4 separate regions of the Homo sapiens genome follow, and regions 2, 3 and 4 are each linked to region 1. Evidence: promoter capture Hi-C in 16 types of primary human blood cells and fetal thymus (Javierre and others, 2016). All regions are on one chromosome and are shown on one strand. Each heading gives the region's core, a stretch centred on a gene start or on the middle of the fragment in contact. The rest is flanking DNA. Distances are from core to core; before and after follow the strand shown. Region 1 holds the start of FBXO33 (F-box protein 33). Region 2 holds the start of GPR65 (G protein-coupled receptor 65). Region 3 overlaps SEL1L (SEL1L adaptor subunit of SYVN1 ubiquitin ligase). Region 4 holds the start of SEL1L (SEL1L adaptor subunit of SYVN1 ubiquitin ligase).

The links. Contacts are between HindIII fragments. The CHiCAGO score rates a contact against its expected background, and 5 or more counts as called.
Region 2: the fragment with the promoter of GPR65 here is called in contact with the fragment with the promoter of FBXO33 in region 1 in 2 of 17 cell types (total CD4 T cells and total B cells); the score reaches 5.6 in total CD4 T cells.
Region 3: a fragment that was not itself captured here is called in contact with the fragment with the promoter of FBXO33 in region 1 in 1 of 17 cell types (activated CD4 T cells); the score reaches 7.2 in activated CD4 T cells.
Region 4: a contact is called between the fragment with the promoter of SEL1L here and the fragment with the promoter of FBXO33 in region 1, in 1 of 17 cell types (non-activated CD4 T cells). The highest score is 5.2, in non-activated CD4 T cells.

What each region holds. Positions count from the first base shown.
Region 1 is chr14:39,430,467-39,434,094 of GRCh38, forward strand. FBXO33 (F-box protein 33) reads right to left here and starts at 1,967. Exons shown (of 4, transcript NM_203301.4): 1 at 1,098-1,967. The coding sequence starts at 1,696. LOC105370461 (a long non-coding RNA gene) reads left to right here and starts at 1,973. Exons shown (of 8, transcript XR_007064121.1): 1 at 1,973-2,053. RefSeq lists silencers at 956-1,085, 1,526-1,655, 2,396-2,565 and an enhancer at 1,756-2,005. The HindIII fragment of the contact is 7,836 bases long and covers 1-3,628 here.
Region 2 is chr14:88,003,104-88,006,659 of GRCh38, forward strand. It overlaps GPR65 (G protein-coupled receptor 65), which reads left to right and starts at 2,032. Exons shown (of 2, transcript NM_003608.4): 1 at 2,032-2,119. RefSeq lists enhancers at 2,447-2,616, 3,417-3,476. The HindIII fragment of the contact is 4,497 bases long and covers 1-3,556 here.
Region 3 is chr14:81,470,483-81,474,002 of GRCh38, forward strand. SEL1L (SEL1L adaptor subunit of SYVN1 ubiquitin ligase) reads right to left here. Exons shown (of 21, transcript NM_005065.6): 21 at 1,065-3,520. Among named protein-coding and RNA genes, the nearest start is that of LINC02308, 22 kb to the left of the region's middle. RefSeq lists an enhancer at 44-103. The HindIII fragment of the contact is 1,016 bases long and covers 1,321-2,336 here.
Region 4 is chr14:81,532,513-81,535,957 of GRCh38, forward strand. SEL1L (SEL1L adaptor subunit of SYVN1 ubiquitin ligase) reads right to left here and starts at 1,341. Exons shown (of 21, transcript NM_005065.6): 1 at 1,163-1,341. The coding sequence starts at 1,232. RefSeq lists an enhancer at 1,129-1,628 and a silencer at 1,345-1,464. The HindIII fragment of the contact is 11,079 bases long and covers 1-3,445 here.

The DNA.
Region 1 (3,628 bases), core at 717-3,216:
CTGCAAAAGGACACGCTTTCGGAGAAAAACAATGCCGTACAGCAATGTGCAAATCACTTGATCCTATAAAGGGTCAGTTTCCTTTCTGTAAAACAGGGTTATTTATCATTACCCTGCCTCATAGTGCCACTGAGAGGCTCAAACAACACAGTGAATGTGAAACTGCTGAAGTATTTTTACTATGTAAGGTGCTCCTTTTGTGAACGTCTAAACTTTCTTCTAATAAGAGCTTTACTGTAAGGTTCTTTAGAATATCCATATAAAGAAGATCTAAATTAATAGGGTTTTGGAGGTGGCGATGGAGAAAAATGATGATTGGGAGGGATACTGGGTCAGAATATAAGGCGTTAGTTCTGGAATTACAGTGAAGTCCTGATGCAAAACCAGAACAGTTATGTGCTTACCCTCTGCAGACCCTGGCCAACTCCCTCGCTGCCCGCCCGCCTCCTCCGCCCGACTGTTACTTTTAGGTGAACTACTGGGGAGAAGTTGAGTGTGGTGGTGTATGGGGAGGGACTTTCAACCCTGAAGATCAACTTCTTCCCCAATCCCTTTAACAAACACTCCTCCTCCTCTTCGGGCCTTGTTCAGTTAGCCGAAACTATTTCTGGTAAGAAAATGGCTGTTACAAAATTTCTTTTAGGCAGCGTCCTATGAGTACCTACTCCTTCCCTCACCATGAACTATTTCTAACAGATTCAGAGTCAGAAAATCGTGTTATGTGTATGTTTTGTTTCTTCCAAGGCTCACCCACAGGCCTCACCCTCCCAGTCTTAACGCTCCCATATATAAAATGAAAAGTGACAGCGCCTGTCAGCTCCATCCCACGGCCACCAAGAGGATGAATGAGTGCCTGGAAGGCGCCAGAAGTGGTGTCTGTTAAACACCCCGTCCACCACTGTTTATAAAGTATCGTGATGAGTCCCGTTATGCCTTTCCGCTCAAGGAAACCGCCTAGTTAGAACCAACACTCTCCGTCACTGAGGAAGGCAACACTGAAGTTGGCCGGGCACGTATTATGCACAGAATCTGTGTCGGGGTGCGGGGACGGAGCGACCCCCCGTTACCGGGCGGGGCGGGGCTCAGGGCAAGCCTACCTGTTGTTCCGGATGCTGACCAGCACGCAAAGCACCAGCTCCAAGTAGGTGCGCAGCACTTCCAGCCAACGAGCTGAGAGCTGCAGGGCCTCGACTTCCTCCCCTCCAGTCCCGGTGTCCGCGCCACCTCCGTCCCCTGGGCCACCGCCGCTCAGATAGTTCTCGGCGGCGAATTCAACACGCAGCTCTCGCACGAACCAGCCGCACTTGCGCATGAGGAATTCCAGCCGAGGCTGCTCCGCGGGCGAGACGCGGAGGCAGATGCGGAGCTGGGGCCACAGGGCCGGATAGAAGAGGCACTCACGCCAGTGCGAGCAGGAGGCCGAGGCCCGCAGCCGGTCGGGCGCCGGCAGAAAAGAGAAGATGTGCACGATCAGCTCGCTGGGCAGCGACGCAGCGCCCGCCGCCTGCCCGCACAGAGCCATCCGGCCCCGCCGCCGGCTGCCGGCTCCCGGCCGCCCCCGCAGTACCCGGAGCAGCCCCCGCAGCCGTCGCAGCTGCTGCAGCCGCAGCCGCCGCCACCGCGCCACCCGGGCGGCCCCGGCTCGGGTTCGAGCTCCCGGCGGTCGGGGCTGCGGCACTGACAAGAACAACAACATCAATGACTAGGAAGAAGGGGGCGGAACCGTCGTGGGTCTCGGCGGAACCAAGTAGAACACAAGTTGTGGAGAGGGGGAAAGGCCTCTGCGGGCGTGGCCTGCCGGGAGCCAGCCTCTGTCTTCTCAAACTCTACTCACGTGCGTCCGAGGCCGGCACACTGAGTAACTGCACTGCCCTCGCTCGTAAACTTCAGCGGCCCGGAAGCCTCAAGGCGTACTGTAAGGAAAAGGCAGCCCTCCCTGCGCCGGTCGGCAGAGACAGAGAAGTGGTAGGAGCTGAGTTTGACGTCGCCGCTGGTGGGAGGAGTCCGGCGCGCACCGGCGCGACTTCCGGAAGAGGGGAGCGCCCGATTGCCTGTAGGGACGGGAGGCGCGGCACGTGATCTCTGACGCACGCAGGCCGCGGGGCGGGGCGGGGCTGGGCGGGGCGGGGCGGGGCGGGGCTGGGCGGGACTGGAACCGGCACTTGGCACCCCTTACGCCTTACGGTGGCCGCTGCGCCCAGTCACATCTGTAAGTCGGTTAATTTTGGCGCTCGGTCGATGGAGGTGGCGGTACTCTGGTTTAGTGCGAAAGGTCGTCACGCTTCTTTGTAAAACGTTTCTCAGTTTGGGCTGAGGACCCTGAGCCAAAGTGGCGGCATGCAGGGTCTTTCTCAGCCATCCCACCTGCCCAGAGTAGGGTTAAGAATTCCTGAGATTGCGCCGCTGAGAGGGAGCTGGCGGACGGGCGGGCTAACCCCGGCGGGCTGTGCCGGGAGGGGCGGTGTGGGGCGTGGCGGAGGCCGCGAATGGACCTGCCCCCTCGGTCCAACCACGCAGGTGGACTTCCGCGCACTCGCTGGTGTGTGGGGAAGCAGTGAGGACAGCGTCACCCTTTGGATTCAGAGGGAGAGAAAAAAATTGGCAAAGGGATCTGAGATCCGCAGGTTGTGACCAGCCTCTTCTCCAGGGCTTGAGGAAGGGTCTCTTTTCCCTGTGCTGAGATTTAAGGCTCTCGTTGAAAAGTTCACAGTAATGACAGAGCTTTGATTTTTTTTCTTTCTTCTTCTTCTTTTTTTGCCTGGTATCCCTAACTTAGATTTTCCAAACCATGTCCCTAACTTCACCACAGCCTACTGCAAAGTAAACTCTGGTTGCAAAGAGTGGTGAAGTCAGAAAAGATTAAGTGACTTTATGTAATAATCGAGGGTTGCTTTAGGGAGGCTGCCTCTTTATGTAATAATTGAGAGTTGCTTTAGGGAGGCTGTGATGTTGGAATAGCATCGTTCTTTTGTGGTAAACACCAAGACTTTTTGGACTTTTTTTTTTTTTTTTGGTTTTAAGGAGCGGAGAATTTAATAGGCAAGAAAGAAGGAAGAAGGCTGAAGGAAGAAGCTCCCCACTACAGAGACAGACGGAGGGGGCTCCCAAGACGAAAGAGGAGACCCCCATTCTAGATGTTCTTAACCCTTTGAGGGCAAAGCTCTCCGTTTAATGCCTTGCACATATCAGGTTGCCAACAACATGGTGTGGTTTATCAATTGTGATAGGTTACTTATTCGAGCCCCTGTTTACAAGAGTTTTAGGTAATTATACCTTATTAATTTTAATGAACTCTTAGAGGGCGACCCCAGTCGTGGGTTCGGCAGGATGAAACACTACCCATTTACCAGTTTACAGACATTTAGGTCGTTTCGAGTTATGAATAATGCTGTGAACATTCATGTGCAAGTCTTTATGTGGACGTATGTTTTAATTTGTCTTGGGTAGATACCTAGGAATGAAAGTGATGGGTCGTAGGGTAGTTCTATGTATAACTTTTTGAGAAACGGAAACTTTTTCCAAAGTGGCTGCATCATTTTTCATTCCCACCAGCCATGTATGAGGGTTTCCAGTTCTCTGACTTTTTTTTTTTTAATATTCTAGAAATGCACTGTAATTTGAGATTGAT
Region 2 (3,556 bases), core at 782-3,281, about 49 Mb after region 1:
CCCATTACCCCATGAGTAGCCCAACTGGCCAGTGTTGGGTCCCCAGATTGTGACCACAGAAAACCAAATAATTGACTGGTCAGAAATGCCAACCCCGTTAAGGCAGTGTTCTGAATAACTACTAATTGTCTTTATCTCATTGTTATGTTGTTAAAATGTCACAGTGACTCAATGATTTAAAATTTCTAACCGTTCATTATAAAAGATAGCCCTATAGTTGAAAATACAGTATTGCCATATTTTCCATATTAAGAAGCAAATTTCTTAAAAGCTGGTAAATTTCTTATTGTGTAGAGTTGGCAAGGTTTTAGCATAGGTCAGCTCCAGCTTTTTCTCCTCTTTAATCAGAAGTGAAAGTTTGTGTTTCTTATGTTTCTTAATGATAATCTTTTTCTTTTGAAAAGCAAAATACATGAATATTAGATATGGACATGAAAATACCCTTTCCCTAAAAGCAGAAGTATAGTCTATTCAGATAAAGTAAGAGATCATCAGAGTAATGAAATACCTACGTAACAATGCACTTGTACCCCGAACTTAAAAAAAGATATATCATGTATAGAAACCACAGATAAGCAGATGTACGAAACCAAGCAAAAATGAGAACTTTGAATTACAGTCACAAGTAAACTGAAATCGTTACTTTTCATTTTTGTAAAACTTCAAGACATTTATTGTTAATTTTTTACTTTATACTTAATTTTTATTATTTCAGTAACAATATATTGATTTATAATTTACTATATGCTAAATTACTTTATAAACTATCCTGTGCTTTATAAATGTAAGGTATTAGTTTTATTATTCTCAAAGAAAGACCTACAACGGAAGTATTGAAAATCTTTACATTCCTGATATACCCTGATCAACTTCAATATGGAAAGCCTTGCTTATATACAGGCTAATCTTTTCTATCTCTGGGTAGGGAGAAAAAAACAACAAAAAAAAAACACCAGCAACAACCCTTAATGTCCTTTAACAAACACAGATTCAAAATGTCCTGATTACATCTTTAAAATTAAGTCAAATGTTTTCATCCCAAATAAATTCTGTTCTTTCAAATAATATTTTCCCTTCATTTCTAATAAAAGTTTATGAGGGCAAGATTCAAAAGTGATATTTCTGACTTTTTTATATATCAATAGTAAGAAAGTTATAGGAGCTAATTTCACTTCATATTAAACCACTTATAGATTTGGCATTAACTTTAACTTGCTAAAGTACAAGAGTTTTTATAATAACAATGTAAGTCTTAAATAAAATTTTCAAGTTTCATAAAATTATTTGTCTCAGCTAGTTAATTCAACTGGTTTTTAGCCATCTCTGTTTCCAAGAGGAGAGAATCAAAGGAGAAAATAGTTCTACAATCAAATACTATATATCTAATCCCATTAGTCTCTCAAAAAAAAAAAGAAAAGAAAGACGGTATGAGGTTGGCTACCTTAACCCCTGCCTTAAGCAGCACAATATCCATCATTAAACCCCTCAGCCTCAATTCTCCCTTTTCTGTTTTTGTCCCAGGAACTTTATCACCCTGAATCTACCTACAATATCCTCCCCTATCTCACACATCCAAATGGTTCATTCTATTTTATCTGTACCCCTCTTGAAGTACTTCTTCATTTTGCCATTGCATTACAATCATTATTAAACATGTCTTTCTCCTTTACTAGGTAAAAAAAGCTGCTTTTGGTTGATAGCCAGTTCGTATACATCTCCCCGCACACTGCTGGCATGATGAGTGAATGAATGAATGAATGAATGAATGAACAAAGAAATAAATAAAATATTTAACATATATTCCATTAAGTAAAGGGCATATAATATAATATCAGTACATACTTGTAATTAAGATGCAATGAGACAAGTGAGTTATAAAAATTACAGTACAGTAAACAATAAATAAAAACATCTTTAAAAGTATTTAAGAGACTTTTTTTGTTCAAACTTGGATAACGCACACCCTTCTCATTGAGATGCTGCTTCCTCATTGGTTTGTGCTGAAATATGAGTGCAATTTCCTGTCCCCTCAGCAGTGTTGGTTTCTCTTCTTGACTTGATGCAGGCACAGATTTATCAAGCTCCTCAGTCAACAAACACATCACCGGAAGAAATATGGGTAAGTATAAGATTAAAAAATAAAATAATATTTTAAAGTAGATAACATGCTTTGGCATAATTGTCAGTGATGTTCGCAACATTCTTCCTGGTTTAGGCTGTATAAATGTGGTAATGCAAAGCATGATAAGAGAGAAAGAAATGAGGAAGACACATGGTTTCCTCTACTTTGAGCAGTGGTAAAGGGCCAAACTTTAAATTTAGAACTAATTAGGCAAAACCATAGATATAGAAAAAGGGGGTTGTTCATACTTTATTTTCTTTTCAGGAAACAGTGCTTTGGCAAACTTCATTCAGTATTAGGAAGAAGCCTACCAGCCCCTGGCTTTAGAGCTATCTGGCACCAATCCCTCATCTGTACAATGGTCCAGTAAATACTTTTTATATCCATCAGAAAAAAATGTGATATTAGGAAAGAATATTTCCAGTATTAATAAATGTCAAGTAATAATTATTAGTTAATAAGTGACTACCACAGTGCCTGAAATATATAGTAGAGTCTTAATAAGTAACTATTAAACTGATAGATGAAAGCAAGCATTTTCTATAACACTGTAGGAAAATATTGTACTTTTGGTCATCGTCATCAATGATTTGTACTATTTTTAGATCTGTTCAAGAATAGATATACTTTAATATACTGTAGATTGTCTTTTTTGACATCTGGTAAAAATTAAAAAATTAAAAACTCACCAAAATTTCTCAGTGCTTGTTCTAAAAACAATTTTCTCAAAATTTGATTAAAGGAGGCAAAATAATATCTGAAAAGATATGTGAATACTGTAATAGGAATTATATACAGTATTCCACTAAAATCTCAGATCCACCCAAATTAAATGAACAACTATTATCTGCAGAGCCTAGTATTATACGTGAAGTGTTACCATATAAATTACACTCTGAGCACCTCCAGCTTTTCTGCTATGCTGTGGCTAGATGACTAAAGATGATTTCTTTTCAGAAAATGTAGGGGACAGCACAAAGATTGGTGCAGACTACCAATGTCATTAAAACAATATTACCAGCTAACGTACAGTGAATGCCTCCCATGTGCTAGGAACTTTGCTTCATATGTCGTTTCATTTAACCCTCACAACAATCTTAGAAACTGGGTACTAACTTACACATGTGAAAACTGGAACTTAGAGAGGTGAAGAAACACCAATGGGCCCAGAGTGCTGTTGAGAGGCATTCGAATTGTCTCCAGAGCCCACGCTCTTAACCACAAGCCTGTACTGCCTCTGCGTCACTACAAAGAAGAGGGCCTCTGCTTCATCAACCCATCCTGTCTTGTGGTTAAGTCAAGGCAGGAAATGCTTTTACAGCTAGAGAAATGTATTCCATTGAAAACTTTATAAACCTTTCTAAAAATCATTTTTTCATTTAATCTGTCATACCATTTTTAAAGAAAATGATGACTATCTATTGAGTAACACGG
Region 3 (3,520 bases), core at 579-3,078, about 42 Mb after region 1:
ATGAGTGATGAAATACAGATACCAATTACACAAACTTAAGGCTTCAATTACTTTTTCCTCCTTTTGAAATAAAGGCAGTTCTTTACAGGCCCAGTGTGGGTGCTTTCACCTACAGCACATACTTCAGCTACGGTCCAAAGAAGGCTAAAGGGAAAATACCGTGCTCTTCTCAGCTCTCGCGGTCCTGGAAGTAAATTTCCATGCACTGAAAGAAGTAAGATGGGCTGGGTACAGTGGCTCACACCTGTAATCCCAGCACTTTGGGAGGTTGAGGTGGGAGGATCGCTTGAGACCAGGAGTTTGAGACCAGCCTGGGAAACATAGGGAGACCCTGTTTCTACAAAAAATAAAAAAATAGCTGTCCGTGGTGGCACACACTAGTACTCCCAGCTATGCAGGAGGCTGGGGTGGGAGAATTTCTTGAGCCCAGGAGTTTTGAGGCTGCAGTGGGCTCTAACTAAGCCACTGCACTCAGCCTGGACAACAGAGTGAGACCCTGTCTCAAAAAAAAAAAAAAAAAATTTAAGATGTTAACCACAGAACATTGTCCAAATGATAGGTCAAAGAAAATACATGTACAGGTTAGAACAATTCAAGTAAATTCTTCATTAGTACTTAAGGGAAACAAAATCAGCTGGAAGGCTCCCCAACCCCTCACTACCATGCACTCACACACGCACGCACAGCCAGCGTTAGTCTCTACTCATTTCAGATTGCATTTAGAACAAAAAAAGTTCAATTAATCAAATTTTCCTAAGAAAAGCATCTACGAGCATGGCCACAGATGAAGGGTGAGGAAATGCAGGTGTGCAAACTCTGAAACCCACAGCTGGGCTTTCACATCCTGAAATAAATCTGTTTCCAAGAACAGAGATTTCTGTTGCCCACGTTTGAATCTTGAATCGTGTAAAACTCAATGACATATTCATTTTCGAAGTTAGAATCCTTACTTGGGATACCTGAATCTCTTATCTCCCAAGACTTATGAGACATTCTTTCCAAGTCCGAGAGGTGAATTAACGAGGTTATACTGGGCGGTAGAGAGGAGGCAGTGGGAAACCGGATTGAGCAGCAACAAATTATTTATATGAACATTCCAAATTCAGTTAACTAACCACATTCCACTCAACTTACATGAGAAAAAATTGTGTGGTTTTTAGAAATGGGATTTAATATACAATTCAGCATTAACATTGTTATGTTTAAAAGAAATTAACCCAGATAAAAAGAATTTGGCCTCTAGGGAAAATCAGAGTTCTACTCAAAATATAATACTACCAATAAACTACTAGCATAGTGAATTTTCAGGATCTAATTAAAAGCTTGTTCAATTTGATGGCGAAGTAGTGACGTAAGTGACATGAGAAGGAACGTACAAAGCCCATTACACAGCAGTACCTCCTTTTGAACTGATTAACGCTCACTTTTTCTTATTCGTAAAAAAATACCCAAAAAGTAAAAACTTTCCTTTTTATTTTTCGTAGTTTCTACTACAGAAATTCTGATTTTTTTTACTTGCATCTAATTTGTGTATCTGCTGTAACTTAATCTAAGCATACTTCCAAGCTGGTATAACCAACCTAAACTAGCATCATAAAGGAAGTTAGGAAAGAGGCTGTAGCTCATCAAGTTGCAGCCAATGAAGATGGAGGACATTCTAATGACTTGCCAGAAAGAGGCTAAGTGGTGAACAGGCAGGCATTGCCCCAGGTTGGATGGTCACCTGCTGGTGTTAAGGCTCTGACATCCGACTTCCCCCACAACTTTTAGGTCAGTCAAGGTCATCTGGGGTCACTGACTGTGCTCCCACAAGTACAATTTGAGATCTTGAGATCTGACATCTCAGTTGCCACAGTTTGCATCATGTAGGCTTTTTATCCAAGATCCAATGCTTCTGAGCTGGAACATTTTACCTCAGTTACCTCTTTGAGTTGCCTGCTGGGAAGCTGGGGGCCAAATTTGTAGCCCACTTCCAATTGCACTTTGTGTACATGTTCACTCTTGATTTAATATTTTTTCATTTCTCCTTTACTCAGAGCATATTTAGTCTAAATGTTACTGTGTGGTACGTGTCTCTGCAAGTCCTCTTAAAAAATTCCTGGGACAAGGCAATGCATAAACAAACTTTAGATAAATAATATTATAATCAGGCTAAAGTGAATCACGCTTACTACATATCAAGGCTGCTTCAAGACAAAGATATCAGAGATTTAAAAGATAACATTTCTTAGCAAATTCATGTTCTCCCTAGGGCAATATTGGACTTGTAAAAATCTGAATTTCAGGAGTTTAAAATGAAAGATAAATTCAAATTGCCACAAGTGAATGTTTTCAGAAGCTTCTGAATTTCCAAAAAACATTAAAAAATTGAATCATTCAGCTTAAAAAAAGTCTGTCTGGAAAGGTGCTTGGTTGTGGTATATTACAGCATACAGGATAACCAGAGGTGGAATCTTTATTTCACAAGTTTCAAGATACAGTACAAAACGATTCTGTACATCTCTCTATTAACAGGATTTGTTTACACAATTATATTACACTTCACCAACCTTTATACTGCATTTCATTAAATACAAAATACATTTACAAAAAGAGTCTACCATGGTGTTCCTTCACAATGCCAGCTTAAGGTCTTTTAAAACTTCCTCTTCTACATATTTATAGTGGTTACATCTTGATTATATCAACATTATGAGTTTTATGAGTTTATTTTCTAATCAAAGAGAATAGTGTCAGCCTGTTTCTCAAACCAAATAGGAAAAACAGCATGTGAGATGATTCCCTGCACATAACCAAGGAATCCTTTTCATGCACACAACATTGGACTTTTACTTGTGCAGTCACTTTAACATACAAATCATCTTTCCTTGGGATCGTTTTAAATTTTCTTGAAATACCAAGTGGGTGGAGAGCTTCTTTTCAATGAATACCACACATTTAAAATCCAGATCGTGCCTCAGGCATTCAGGAGTGTTATATTTTAATTTATATTTGAGAGTGATGACTGATGAAAAATATTTGCATGAAAATAGAAATTTTCTTTTGTTCTGATCATTTCTTACATACTTCTAGTCATAATAATGTGTAATACATATATATATTATGAGATTCACTTTCAAAACAAATATCAGCTGTCACTGAAATATAGCCCTGCTTGTCTTGGCAGGTAAAGGGGCTGTTTTCATGACACATCTTGTTTTGAAATGTGCATGTGAAATGTTAGTCCGAACCTCTGTAAAGGAAGTTTTTGCGTATGTAGTTAGACATTAATACACATGCTATACACATAAAGAATTGTGTTTTTCATTTATAGGCCTGCATGCATACTTCCAAAACACTGGTTTGAAGAATGAACATGAGGATAAAAGAAGGGAGAGAAAGACAAAGCAAAATAAAAAAAAATTCCTATATATATATTAATAAAATACTTAAGTTTCCTGGAGGCATCAACGGCTCTTTAAATAAATCATCAGATCATCACCAGATCACTGGCAGGGGTTTCCAAAACTTCCCAACAGTA
Region 4 (3,445 bases), core at 91-2,590, about 42 Mb after region 1:
GAGGGGAGTGGACCTGAAAGAATGATGTTGGCAGTAAAGTAATTAGCATAGGGTTGGTGCTTTTGAAATGGTATCTCAAACCACATCATGGATAGAATTTAGGTTTAAGCCTCTTATTTTAGAAGCAGAATGACGTTATGGCATTGATTTACAACTAGGACAGGTAATTTGGGGATTCAGATAACCATCTGGGAAATTTTCTGTTAAAAAAAAGCTGACATTTATTAAAAAAAGAAAAAGCTGACATTTATACTCCGTGTTGTCCCCCCAAAACGTCAAGCCACAGAACACCTGTCCTGTTAACTGAAACTGATTAAAATTCCAAAGTTTTACTGTACTAATTTTTATTTATCAACACTTAGAAACACGAAGTTTTCATGAACACTCTCAAAATGGAAATTTTCAAATGTAGGCAGATTAAAACATTAAAAAAGGGGGAAAAAAGCAGAACCAGAATAAACATTAGCTAACTGGAAAATCAATTCAAAAGCACACAAATTTCTGTATCTATATAAAACGCATCTTATAAGAACCAAGATTTTCCCAAACATCATAAAATGACTGTCAACAAACATGGGGCAACTCAGAAACACTGTGACAGGTCACCGCTTTCTCAGGAAGGTTTCAAAAAAGTAAAAAGTGGCTACGATGAGATCAAAAGTCTTCGTTTTTAAACAGACAGACCAGGGACCATCTCAGGTGTTAAGCAAACTACTGTCAACATCCTGGTCTGGATGGATCCTCCTCTGCCCCAAAGTGACAGCTCCAGGTTTGTCAATTATTTAACTTACAATTCCCAAGCCCAGAGTTCTAGACCAGACCCTTCCTCTACCCCAGGGTCGAGGAAGCTCCACTCGGGCTCCTGTATCAGGATTCATTCCTTTGGAGTCAATTCCGCGTTCGTGAGAAGAGTCGCGCAAAGTTTGTTACGTGGGAGAGAGGTGTGGGCAGGGTGACCGCCCCTTCTTTTTCCACCCCACTCCACCTTCCTAAATAGCCCCTTTGGCGCAGGCCAAGCAAAGCCAAAGAGCGAGTGACAGCCCAGTGCGAGATGTGCCCAGGGAGAACGGGGTCCCGAGCCTGGAGTCCCCACGGCCCCGCCGGCTGTAGAGGCTGGGGGGCGGAGGCTCTGGGCCTTCAGCCCGAGGGGGCGGATACTGACCCGAGGACGCCGAGGCCAAGCTCAGCAGCACCGCACACAGCAGCAGCGTCAGCCCTATCCGGACCCGCATCCTCCTCTCGGGGCCGGTGCCAACCCCTAGAGCTGTCGCCTTCGCCTCTGCCACCACGGACTCAGCCACCACCGCCGCCTCGCCGCTGCTCTTCCTGCTCTAGTCTCCTTCCTCCGCCCCTTCCCAGGCTTCCCTGACCCAGCGCGCAGCCAATCCCCGCCCGCCGTCGCGGGCTTCTGGTCCAATCACCATGGTCTCCCCGCCCACCCCCATTGCTCCGCCCCGGGGGTCATTCATTGGCCAATCATTGTACGAAGCTCCCACACCAGCTTTCTCGGTTGGACCACGACTCACGGACATGGCCCCAGCTAATTGGTAGCCCCTGGGTTCAACCGGAATCAGCGCGTGAGTCCAAGACTGGGAGAAAGAGGCTCATCCGAGACTACAATTCCCAGAATGCGCTTCATGTGATTAACTCGGGGGGTGCTCTTGGGAAACGTAGTCCATCGTAGGGCAAGATTTACAAGTGCGGGTGACTGTTGAAGTTAGAATTTAACTAACACCTGGGCTAAATATTAACTCAAGGCTATGGATTCACAAGCCTTTTTAAATTGACCCAAAATAAATATTAAGGAATAATTTTAAGAACTTGTAATGTGTTTAGCATCTTTTCCTGTTTTATTTAAAAAATTTAAATTGGGCATAGTGATAAGAGCACTGAGAAAAATGCCACAGCTAGTTGAATTTGAGGTGTTTTTTAAAACTTAGATAAAACAGTACCGTGAAGTACGGAAACCAGGGTGCAACTCAGTACCTGTCCTCCTTTCTCCGACAAAACAAAAGGAAATAAATCCGCTCGGCACAGATTATCTCAATACAGTATTTATTTTCACTAGGTTCACCAGACAATAATCATAAAGAAAATGTGCCAACAGCTTTGAAAAATTATTTTAAACACTTGTCCTCATCCTTCTCCTCTTGTGAGTTGCATTGTTCTCTTCTTTCCTAACTAAAGTCAGGAGACCAGGTTCACGTGTGTGGAGGTAGAGGTGATAGTGATTGCATCGCAGGCACGGAAATACTCTATGTAATAAGCACGAAATCCAGGCATGTTCCAACTGAGTAGCAGAGCAGTGACTTGGTGTGCCTGCCCTTTCTTTTCTCAAACCGTGTCATTCTGCTTTCCCTGTCATCCACCCACAGTCAGCTCTAAGGCCTAGAACCTAGTCCAGCCAAGTGAAGGACTTTGGAAAAGTCTCTGCTGGCCATGTGTCTTAACACTTCTGGGCATTTGTCTTCCTTCCTTTTTTTTTTTGTTTTTTGTTTTTTGTTTTTTGAGATACAGCCTTTTATTTTCAGGAAGATGGTAAAAAACCAACCACTGTTTCTCATTCACATCGGAGGAGATGAAGGAAAGAATTATCTCCTCCAAAAACTTGTCTTTTCAGCTACATCACCATTTCTGTCACTAACAATGTTCCCTCTGAGTTCCTCTGATTATAAATCATAGAGTAAAATCTGGTATATTTTCCTTTCTTTTTCATCTTATTGATAATCAAGTTCTATCAGTTTAAACTATGTAACTTTTAAATTGTTTTATTTTATTATGTACCTCTGTTCTCTTCCTCACTGAAAACTCCCCTAATGGCTTTCATTTTCTCTCACCTGGATGATGCACCTGAGTTCCAGCCATACTCACTGACATCATTCTCCCTTTAACCTGAATCACATATCATGGCCATATTAATTTTCCTTAAACACTGCTTTCATATGCCTATTGAAAATTTTCAATGGCTACACTTTTCACAGAATAAAAAAAATTAGAACTTATTCTACTCACAAAATAGGAACTGTGCTGACAGTTCTACTCTGTTGGGGAAGTACCAGGGAAGAAACTTCTGCCTTCTACAGAAGAGCCAGTGATTATCTGTTTGATTAAAACTGGGGAAAGTTTGCTGCTTAGTTAAGCCCCAACTTCTTTTTTCAGTTTTGTCTTTACTGAGTACGTCTTATATTTAAGGGTTGTTCTGGGTGCTGCTGCATGGACCAAATAGCCACTTCCGTTTTACTTTCCAGATTTCACATTAACACAATCATGTCTTCCTAAGGGTTCCTCTACCCTTTCTCCAACTGCCCTTGCTTCTTTCACTTAGCCATAACTCTGGCATCCTTCCCAATTTCATTCACATTTCGTCTTGGATCACACTTCTCCAACCAGATCTGTCCTCATTAATCTTCATTTCTCTAAGAATCTATTGAACACTCACAATCTT